2 separate regions of the Homo sapiens genome follow, and region 2 is linked to region 1. Evidence: promoter capture Hi-C in 16 types of primary human blood cells and fetal thymus (Javierre and others, 2016). All regions are on one chromosome and are shown on one strand. The core of a region is centred on a gene start or on the middle of the fragment in contact, and the rest is flanking DNA. Distances in the headings are between cores, read along the strand shown.

Evidence for each region. Contacts are between HindIII fragments. The CHiCAGO score rates a contact against its expected background, and 5 or more counts as called.
Region 2: a contact is called between a fragment that was not itself captured here and the fragment with the promoter of ZNF415 in region 1, in 2 of 17 cell types (total CD4 T cells and total CD8 T cells). The highest score is 7.1, in total CD4 T cells.

What each region holds. Positions count from the first base shown.
Region 1 is chr19:53,131,034-53,135,389 of GRCh38, reverse strand. It overlaps ZNF415 (zinc finger protein 415), which reads left to right and starts at 2,480. Exons shown (of 4, transcript NM_018355.4): 1 at 2,480-2,534. ZNF347 (zinc finger protein 347) reads left to right here. Exons shown (of 5, transcript NM_032584.3): 5 at 1-455. The HindIII fragment of the contact is 7,510 bases long and covers 296-4,356 here.
Region 2 is chr19:51,861,695-51,865,964 of GRCh38, reverse strand. It overlaps a transcript of ZNF577 not described here and the pseudogene LOC100419706. Among named protein-coding and RNA genes, the nearest start is that of ZNF577, 24 kb to the left of the region's middle. The HindIII fragment of the contact is 1,634 bases long and covers 1,709-3,342 here.

The DNA of each region.
Region 1 (4,356 bases), core at 1,231-3,730:
CTCTCTCTCTCTCTCTCTCTTTCTCTCTCTCTCTCTCTCTCTCTCTCTCTATATATATATATATATATATATATATATATATATATATATTTAGAAAATGGGTAGAACTATGAAGAGACATTTCACTGAAGCAGTTATACTGAGATAAATAGGCACATAAAAAGATTTCCAACATCACCATCCATCAAATCTCAGATCTCAGCATATTCTGCTTTAAAAGACTCATCTTGTCACATTTCAGTAAGAGGCAGAATCGAGATTTGAATCCATGTTGTCTGGTTGCAAAGACAAAGCTTTTAATGATGATGCTACAGTAACAATGCTAGTTATTTTTGTCCTTTACTCACCATCTATACCTATTTTGTTAGTATCTCTTGTAATTTTTAAATGGTTTATCTTCATATATCATTGTGATTGTGGTAACTTTGTATTAAATCTATATTTTTATAGATCAATTAAGTCTATATTTTATAGATCACTATTGCGTATGCATCTTACCTAAATGAATGACAGAGACACTCATTACCACATAATCCTGTAAGAACGATTATCCAATCTTTCGAAGGAGGCATCCAGTACCTGAGGTGTTAGTTCTAGTGGTGGCCAGGCGCTGTAGCTCACCCCTGTAATCCCAGCACTTTGGGAGGCCAAGGGGGGTGGATCTCCTGAGGTCAGGAATTGGAGACCAGCCTGGCCAACATGGTGAAAACCCATCTCTACTAAAAATACAAAAAATAGCTGGGTGTGGTGGCGCGTGCGTGTGGTTGAAGCTACTCAAGAGGCTGAGGCAGGAGAATCGCTTGAGCCTGGGAGGTAGAGGTTACAGTAAGCTGAGATCACACCACCGCACTCCAGCCTGGGTGACAGAACAAGACTCTGTCTCAAAAAAAAAAAAAAATCACTAATAATGACAAAGTGCATATTTCTTGAGCTGAGAATATTTTTGTATCTGTGTTTCCATTGTTCGTTTCCAAAAACAATTACAGGTTGCTAATACACATCAACTGGACTGTTCAGTAGAAGCTCCTGTGTTTCTCATGATCTCTGACAGCATCCAGGGGTTCACATGGAGAAAGCAGAATATGCTGAGGTCTGAGATTTGATGGATGGTGATGTTGGAAATCTTTTTATGTGCCCATTTATCTCAGTATATCTGCTTCAGTGAAATGTCTCTTCATAGTTCTATCCATTTTCTAATTTGATTATTTTGCTTTTTTTTTAAGTCGTTCTAGGATTCTTTATACATTCCACATACCAGTTTTATGTCAGATATATGGTAGGCAAATATTTTCTATTATTCAGTACTGTATTAGTCCATTTTCACACTGCCTAAACCCTCCTGTGACAACCTGAGACTGGGTAATTTATAAACAAAAGAGGTTTAATTGACTCACAGTTCCGCATGGCTAGGGAGCCCTCAGGAAACTTACAATCATAGAGGAAGGCAAAGGCGAAGCAAGGCACGTCTTGCTTGCAGCAGGAGAGAGAGCGATCAAAGGAGGAACTATCACAGATTTTTAAACCATGAGATCTCCTGAGAGCTCACTATCATGAGAACGGCTTGGGGAAAACCACCCCCATGATCCAGTCACCTCCCACCAGGTCCCTCCCTCAACACCTGAGGTTTATACTTGAAAATGAGATTTGATGGGGACACTGAGCCAAACCATATCAAATACCTTTTCTTTCATCGTCTGAAGGTCTTTCACAGACCAAAAGTTTTTAATTTGGTAAATACCAGTTGATTTTTTTTTTCTTTAATGAATCATGCTTTTGCTGCTATGGCTAAGAATTTTTGAACAAGCTCTTGATTCTTACGATTTTATTGTGAGTAATTTTTTCTTTCAGTCTCCTACAGGATACCATTTTATGGTTTGATATTTTACATTTAGGCTATGGTCAATGTTGAACTAATGTCTGTACGGTTGTGAAGTTTGAGTAGAGATGACTTCTTTCCTGCTGTGGATATTAAGTTAGCCCCTCACCAGTTTTTAAAAATTCTTCATTCAATTCCCTTGGTAACTTTGTCAAAAATCAGTTGGAAGTACCTGTAGAGGCTATTTTTGTACTCTCTTACTGTATTGCATCAATCCATATGTCTTTTATTGCCCCAAAACCACACAGTTTTTATTACCTTTCCTATATTGGTAGTCTTGAAATCCAGTGGAGTGATTCCAGACACTTCATTTTTGTTTTTTGGTAACTTTTATGGATCCAATCACTGCTAGTTTTGGATTCCCCACCGAAATCCCAGTTCCCGGACTGCTAAGCTGCAGGAGACTCCCTAGCAGGATCGGGTCCAACCTGCAGGCAAAATAGTTTTAACATAAACCGTTTTCAACTTGGTAAGTGGAAAACATTTTGGTTTCCACCATAAGTGGCCCACACAACTCTGATTTTTTTACCTTAAAGCGGCGCAGACCCCGCCCACTCCAGCCATTCCTTCAGGCTGCCCGGGCTCTTCTCTCCGCGCATGCGCAGTTTCCTACAGGCCCGGAAACGGATCGCGTTGGGTGAAGGTGACGGCGTCGAGCGTGAGTGACCCTCTGTGTAGATTAAACCTGCGCTCCCTGTTTCCCATTTCCACAGCCGATGTCCAGGGTCGATACGGCCCTTAAAATCCCCGTACACTCCACCCCAGGTGAATACAGGCCTCGCAGTGTGGGTCCGGAGTCGCTTCCCTTTGGGTTGAAGTCGCTTTGAGGCTGCTCCCCGTCCCCGGCCTTTTGCTTCTTCCTCCCGCTTAAAACCTTTTCCTGACCCCCTCCCCCATCCCCGGGCTTTTTAAAGTCTTCACCCAAGAGGTGTATTCCCGTCCTGGGTGCCTCCCAGCCTTGCCCTCGTCGGCCCCTGGAGCGCAGCGCCGCAGCTGCAGCCGCAGTCCCGGGGAGCCTTGCGTCCTCTGCCTGGTCCTGGGATCCTGCAGACCCCACCCCTGTCTGAAGGCGCTGTCGCGCCCCACCTCCCTCCTCCTCGTGCCGGGCCCCGCTGCTCCCCAGGCCTCCCCTGAGCCCGCGCTGGGGAGGTGCTCAGGGCCTGTCCTGTGACACCCGATGTTCTTGCCTGCCCTCCTCCACCCCGTGGAAAATGCGCTCCTCCAGGATGCAGGCGTCTTACCCCAAACCGTCCTGTGAATGTGTGGGCCAAAGGGATCGAGGGACAGAGAGAGCAGTAGAAAACCTGAGACAGGAAGGAATGAGGCAAACCAATAAACAGATGGCAAAGTAGAGGATGGTTAGAGATTTTCAGAGACAGTAAGAGTGGAAGAAGAAGCCGAGAAAGTAGCAGGGAGAGAAAAGTAACTAGACACATTTCGAGAAAAAGCACAGTATCCAGAGAGATGAAGGACAGCCAGGTAGGGAGAGGGGCAGCAAAGGAGGAGGCTCCTCAGACAGAGAGTGGGGGAGAGCAGAAGGGATTTGGAGCCAGGGCAGACAGGGCAGTGTGGTACCGGGACAGCAAGAGGGGGCAGCCGATGACAAGGAGAAGCAGAGGGAGAACCACAGCACGGGGAGGCCTGGGATCTGGGGGTGCCAAAGAGTGGGGACAACGGTGTGTAACAGGGAAGAGGGAATTTAACAGGGAGTGCTGAAATGGGGAAGAAAGAGCCAGAAATATGTGGAGACTGGGACAATGAAAAGATTAGGAAGAAAGAGGAATTAAATACATTGCAAGAATGGAAAGAGCAAGTGGAAGAGAAAGAATAGAGGGAAGACGGGGAGGAGCAGCAGGAGAGGAGAGGGGCTCAAAATGAGCAGAATCCTAGGGAGAAAATAAAGGGGAAGGAAAGAGCTAGAGAAAGAAGGTGAGAATGAGAGCGATGTACGGAACGAGGGAGGGAAACACACCATAATGAGGAAAGAGGGGGACCCCAGGTCCAGGTGAGTTGTGAACTGACTGGATGTGATGACTACCTTTTGACCTGTTGATTTCTGTCTTTATAAGTTTAAAATGCACAGATGATGAGAATTGCAAAGCTCCTGTCTATTAAGGCTGGTGCATTTTATAATTATGGCATCAGAAGTTAGCTTCCACTTGCAATCCCTGTTAAGGCAGAGGGAAGTGACTTGACTCATTAATTCCACAGGTCATCCTCTTCCCCTTCCCTGGCGTTGGGGCAGGGGGAGGGGAAGGGGGAGTGGGAGAGTAAAGCTGGGCAGAAAGTGAAAGACTGTCACTACATAGTGTCTCTCTAAAGCAGGGGTGTCCAATCTTTTGGCTTCCCTGGGCCACATTGGAAGAAGAATTGTCTTGGGCCACACATAAAGTACACTAACACTAACAATAGCTGATGAGCTAAAAAAAAAAAAAAAAAAAAAAAAAAAAGTTGCAAGAAAATCTCAAAATGTTTTAAGG
Region 2 (4,270 bases), core at 1,276-3,775, 1.3 Mb after region 1:
TTTTGTATTTTTAGTAGAGCTGGGGTTTTACCATGTTGGTCAGGATGGTCCCAATCTCCTGACCTCATGATCTGCCCGCCTCAGCCTCCCAAAGTGCTGGGATTACAAGTGTGAGCCACCGCACCCAGCCAGTGATATTTAATTTCAAACATGGAGAATAGAGGATAAAATGTGAGGTCAGTGCATTTCAGGTGAGTGAGAACCAACAAGATGGGAGACCTGGAAAGTAAAGGAGCTGACCATGAGGGTTGGACCCCTTCCAAATGTGTTTAACAGGGCAAAGACTTGGAAGGTGACTACAGATACCTAGATCATTGATGAGGCTCTCTTTTGTTTGGCGTTTCAAAGAAAATGTGCCTTTTTCTCTCTTTATATTGACTTAGATTCTCACAATCGACACATCATCACAGCACTGCCTTTTATCCTGGGGTAAGGATATTTGGCCTGATTTTTGTATTTCCTACAGACCTGAGTGAATCATATGAGAATGTATCAAAGCAACCTAGAAGGTGGGAGTGCTCACCACAGTGGTGTTCCTGTATATATGGTGTTAGAAATCTTTGGGAAGGCGCGGGCATGGTGGCTCACGTGTGTAATCCCAGCACTTTGGGAGGCCGAGGTGGGTGGATCACCTGAGGTCAGAAGTTCAAGACCAGCCTGGCCAACATGGCGAAACCCTGTCTCTACTAAAAATACAAAAATTAGCTGGGCATGGTGGCGAGTGCCCTGTAATCCCAGCTACTCCAGAGGTGCGGTTGGAGAATCACTTGAACCCTAGAGGCGAAGGTTGCAGTGAGCTGAGATTGCGCCATTGCACTCCAGCCTGGGTGACAAGAGCGAAACTCCGTCTCAAGAAAAAAAAAATCTTTGGGAAAGTTCATTGACTGTTGCATGCAGAATTAAAGAAGAATGAATCTGAAACAGAGTGACAGCACTTACATTTATGTGAAGAGCTGAGAAGACTTCATTTTATCTTGCTTCCCACAGATGTTGGTTCCTAAGACTTAAGTTGGCCTCTTTTCTGGGTACTTATTGTTTGAGCGTGATGGATGGACTTTTTCCATTCTCTGGGCATCTCCTTCTCCCAAAGCCTTCAGAGTTGGAGGGCGTAAGGGTGCTTCATCATTGGTAATTTCTTTTCTTTGTTCCCAGTGTGACCTCTTCGATTTCATGGACTTAACAATGCTATTTATATGTTGATGACTCACAGATTTCTCTCTACAGGCTAGATATTTCCTTATCCTCCTACATTTGCCTGGGAATTGCTTGGAGATCTAATAGCTAACTCAAACTTCAAGTCATCCTTGCTTCACCGTTTCACTCATCCCACAAATCCAGTCCATTTAGCAAGTTTAGACTTTACTTTCTCCTTATATCTCGAGGTCCTCTACTCCTTTCTCTAACAGTTATTTTCACTCAAGCTTCGATGTCCATTATCTCTTGCCAAAATTATGATAGTTTTCTCTAATATACTCTCAGTCCTTTACTCTTGTTTCTATTCTCCACATAATACCCTTAATGAATTTATTTTACTATTTTCATTTATGAAAATAAATGCGGGAGTCAGGGGCGGGAGTCAGGGGCAGGAGTCAGTGTTTCTAGCCCCTCACCTCCAAAATCCCTGAACATTAAAATAAACATCAGAAACATCTTGGTTCTTAAAAGACTTCAGATTTTGACAAAAGTGTTGCGGAAAGTAATTAAAGCTTCATATAAAAAGGTAAATCTTAGTTGGAGGATGGAAAGATCTAAATTATGGTCTAAAAAATGCTATATGATGTAGCAAATCTGTACTCATTCACAGGGTGCAAGCCTAAAAATATTCATGCCATAATATTTAAGACATGGTCAGTGTTAATTACTGATAAACATACACACAGGATGTTGCTTTTAAATTGGAAATCAGGACATGTCATCCTGCTCCCACTATCATTGGTAATGGCATCCTGTTACTGTTAGCACAAGATCCAAATTCTTTTCAGGATCCTCCTACAAGGGAGCATTCCCTGATTTCGGCCTAAACGTTTTTGTTTACTTATTAATGAAAAATGTTTTGGTATAACATACATATAATGTAATTATACAGCTAGGTAACTTTCTAGTCAGCACACTGTGCAACCAGCACCTAGATCAAGAATCTGAGTCCTGTGCAGAATGGCATTGGGTGAATATTACACTGTTTATCTCTTTTACATTCAGGCCATTATACTTAGTGTCCCTATGTATGTTTTCATCAATATCTTTATTTTTATTTTCTCCTTTTGAAAATGCTTGTCTCCAAATGGTCTAGATTTAATGAGATGTTCCAAAATGATACACAAAATTCTTGCACATTCTTTTTGCAAATTTCCCCAAAATATGATTTTACCAATTTGCTTTATTTTATCTATACACACACACCACACACAGGTACATATGGTTTTTCTGAACTCTACCCTAAAACCCAAGTGTGTATTTCATAGGAAGAAGAGCATTCTTTTGCATAATCAGAATACTGTGATCAAAATCAGAATATTGACATTGATATAGTATTATTATTTAAAATACAGAGCTTACTCAAATTTAACCATCTTACTAATATCTTTTTATGGTAAATGGGAAAAGAAGCCTTTTTCTGGACCTCTTCTTGTTATCTCACTTACTCTGTTGTGCGTACACTAGCTTTCATAACATCCAGAAGTCAGAGCTTGCTAATTATAACCAATTCTTTTTGGAAAGAAATCATATGGATGCAGTGAATGTGCAGTGAATACTTGTAAACTACTCATGACCATGCCTCAGAGAACTCATGCAGGAAACAAATCCCAGGAATCTCATGATTTTAGGAGAGCCCTTCCCAGTGAGTTAAAGCTCATTGCTCATCAGCAAACTCAAACAGGAGTGAGACCCTACTGATGCAATCAATGTCAAAAAGCCTTCATTACAAATTCAGGGCTTGTGTATCATCAGAAAACTCATCATAGAGAAGGGAAAGTCTGTACATGCAGCAAATGTGGAGAAGTTTTCCCTTGGAAGTCAGAACTCATTTTATGTCAAAGAAATCATTCAGGAGAGAGACCGTTCATTTGCAAAGTATGTGATAAAGGCTTTGTGGTTAGGACACATCTCACTGTACATCAGAGAGCTCACACAGGAGAGAAACCATATGCTTGCTCAGATTGTGAAAAAGCCTTCTCAAAAAAGGCTTTATTCATGATTCATCAGTGAATTCACACAGGAGAGATACCCTATTAATGCATTCAATGTCAAACAGCTTTGAAGACCAGATCTGAGCTCAGTTATCCTCAGAAAGTTCTTCATAGAAAAGGAAAATTCTATGGATGCAGTAAATGTGGGAAAGCTTTTCCTTGGAAGTCGAACCTCATTTTGCATCTCAGAACTCATTCAGGAGAGAGACCTTTCAGGTGCAAAGTCTATCATAAAGCCTTCATGGTTAGAACACAGCTAACTATACATCAGAGAACTCACACAGGAGAGAAACCATATGCTTGCTTGGATTATGAGAAAGCCTTCTTGAAAAAGGCTCAGCTTATGAAGCATCAGTGAATTCATACAGAAGAAAGACCCTATGGATGCAGTGAATGTCAAGAAGCTTTCATCTGGAAGTTGGATCTCAACAATCATAAGAAAACTCATCATGCAGTAAGGAAATCCCATGAATGCAGTGAATGTGGGAAGGTTTTATCCTCCAAAAAAAACTTTGTTATACATCAGAGAACCCATACAGGTGAGAAACCCTTCAAATGCAATGTATGTGATAAAGCCTTCACATCAAAGGGAAATCTCATTGTATATCAGAGAACTCATATAGGAAATAAATCATATGAATGCTCAGACTGTGATAGGGCCTTCTCCAGTAAGGTATATCTCATGACTCATCAGCCAATTCACACAGGAGAGAGACCCTATGATGCAATGAAGGTCAACAAGCTTTCACCCAAAAGACAGGTCTCAGTAAGCATCGAAAAACTTGCCATGCAAGAATGAAATCTTATGGATACAGTGGATGTGGGAAGGTTTTGTCCTGTAAGTCAACTCTCATTATATAACAGAGAACCTATACAGGTGAGAAACTCCTCAAATGTAGCATGTGTAATAAAGCCATCATAGTTAAATCCTGTCTCACTGTACATTAGAGAATTCATACAGGAGAGAAACCATATAAATGCAGTGATTGTAAGAAAGCATTCGCTACTTTGTAAACTCTCATTGGTCACCAGAGAACTCACACAGGAAAGAGGCCCTATAGATGCAGTGAATGTCAAAAAGC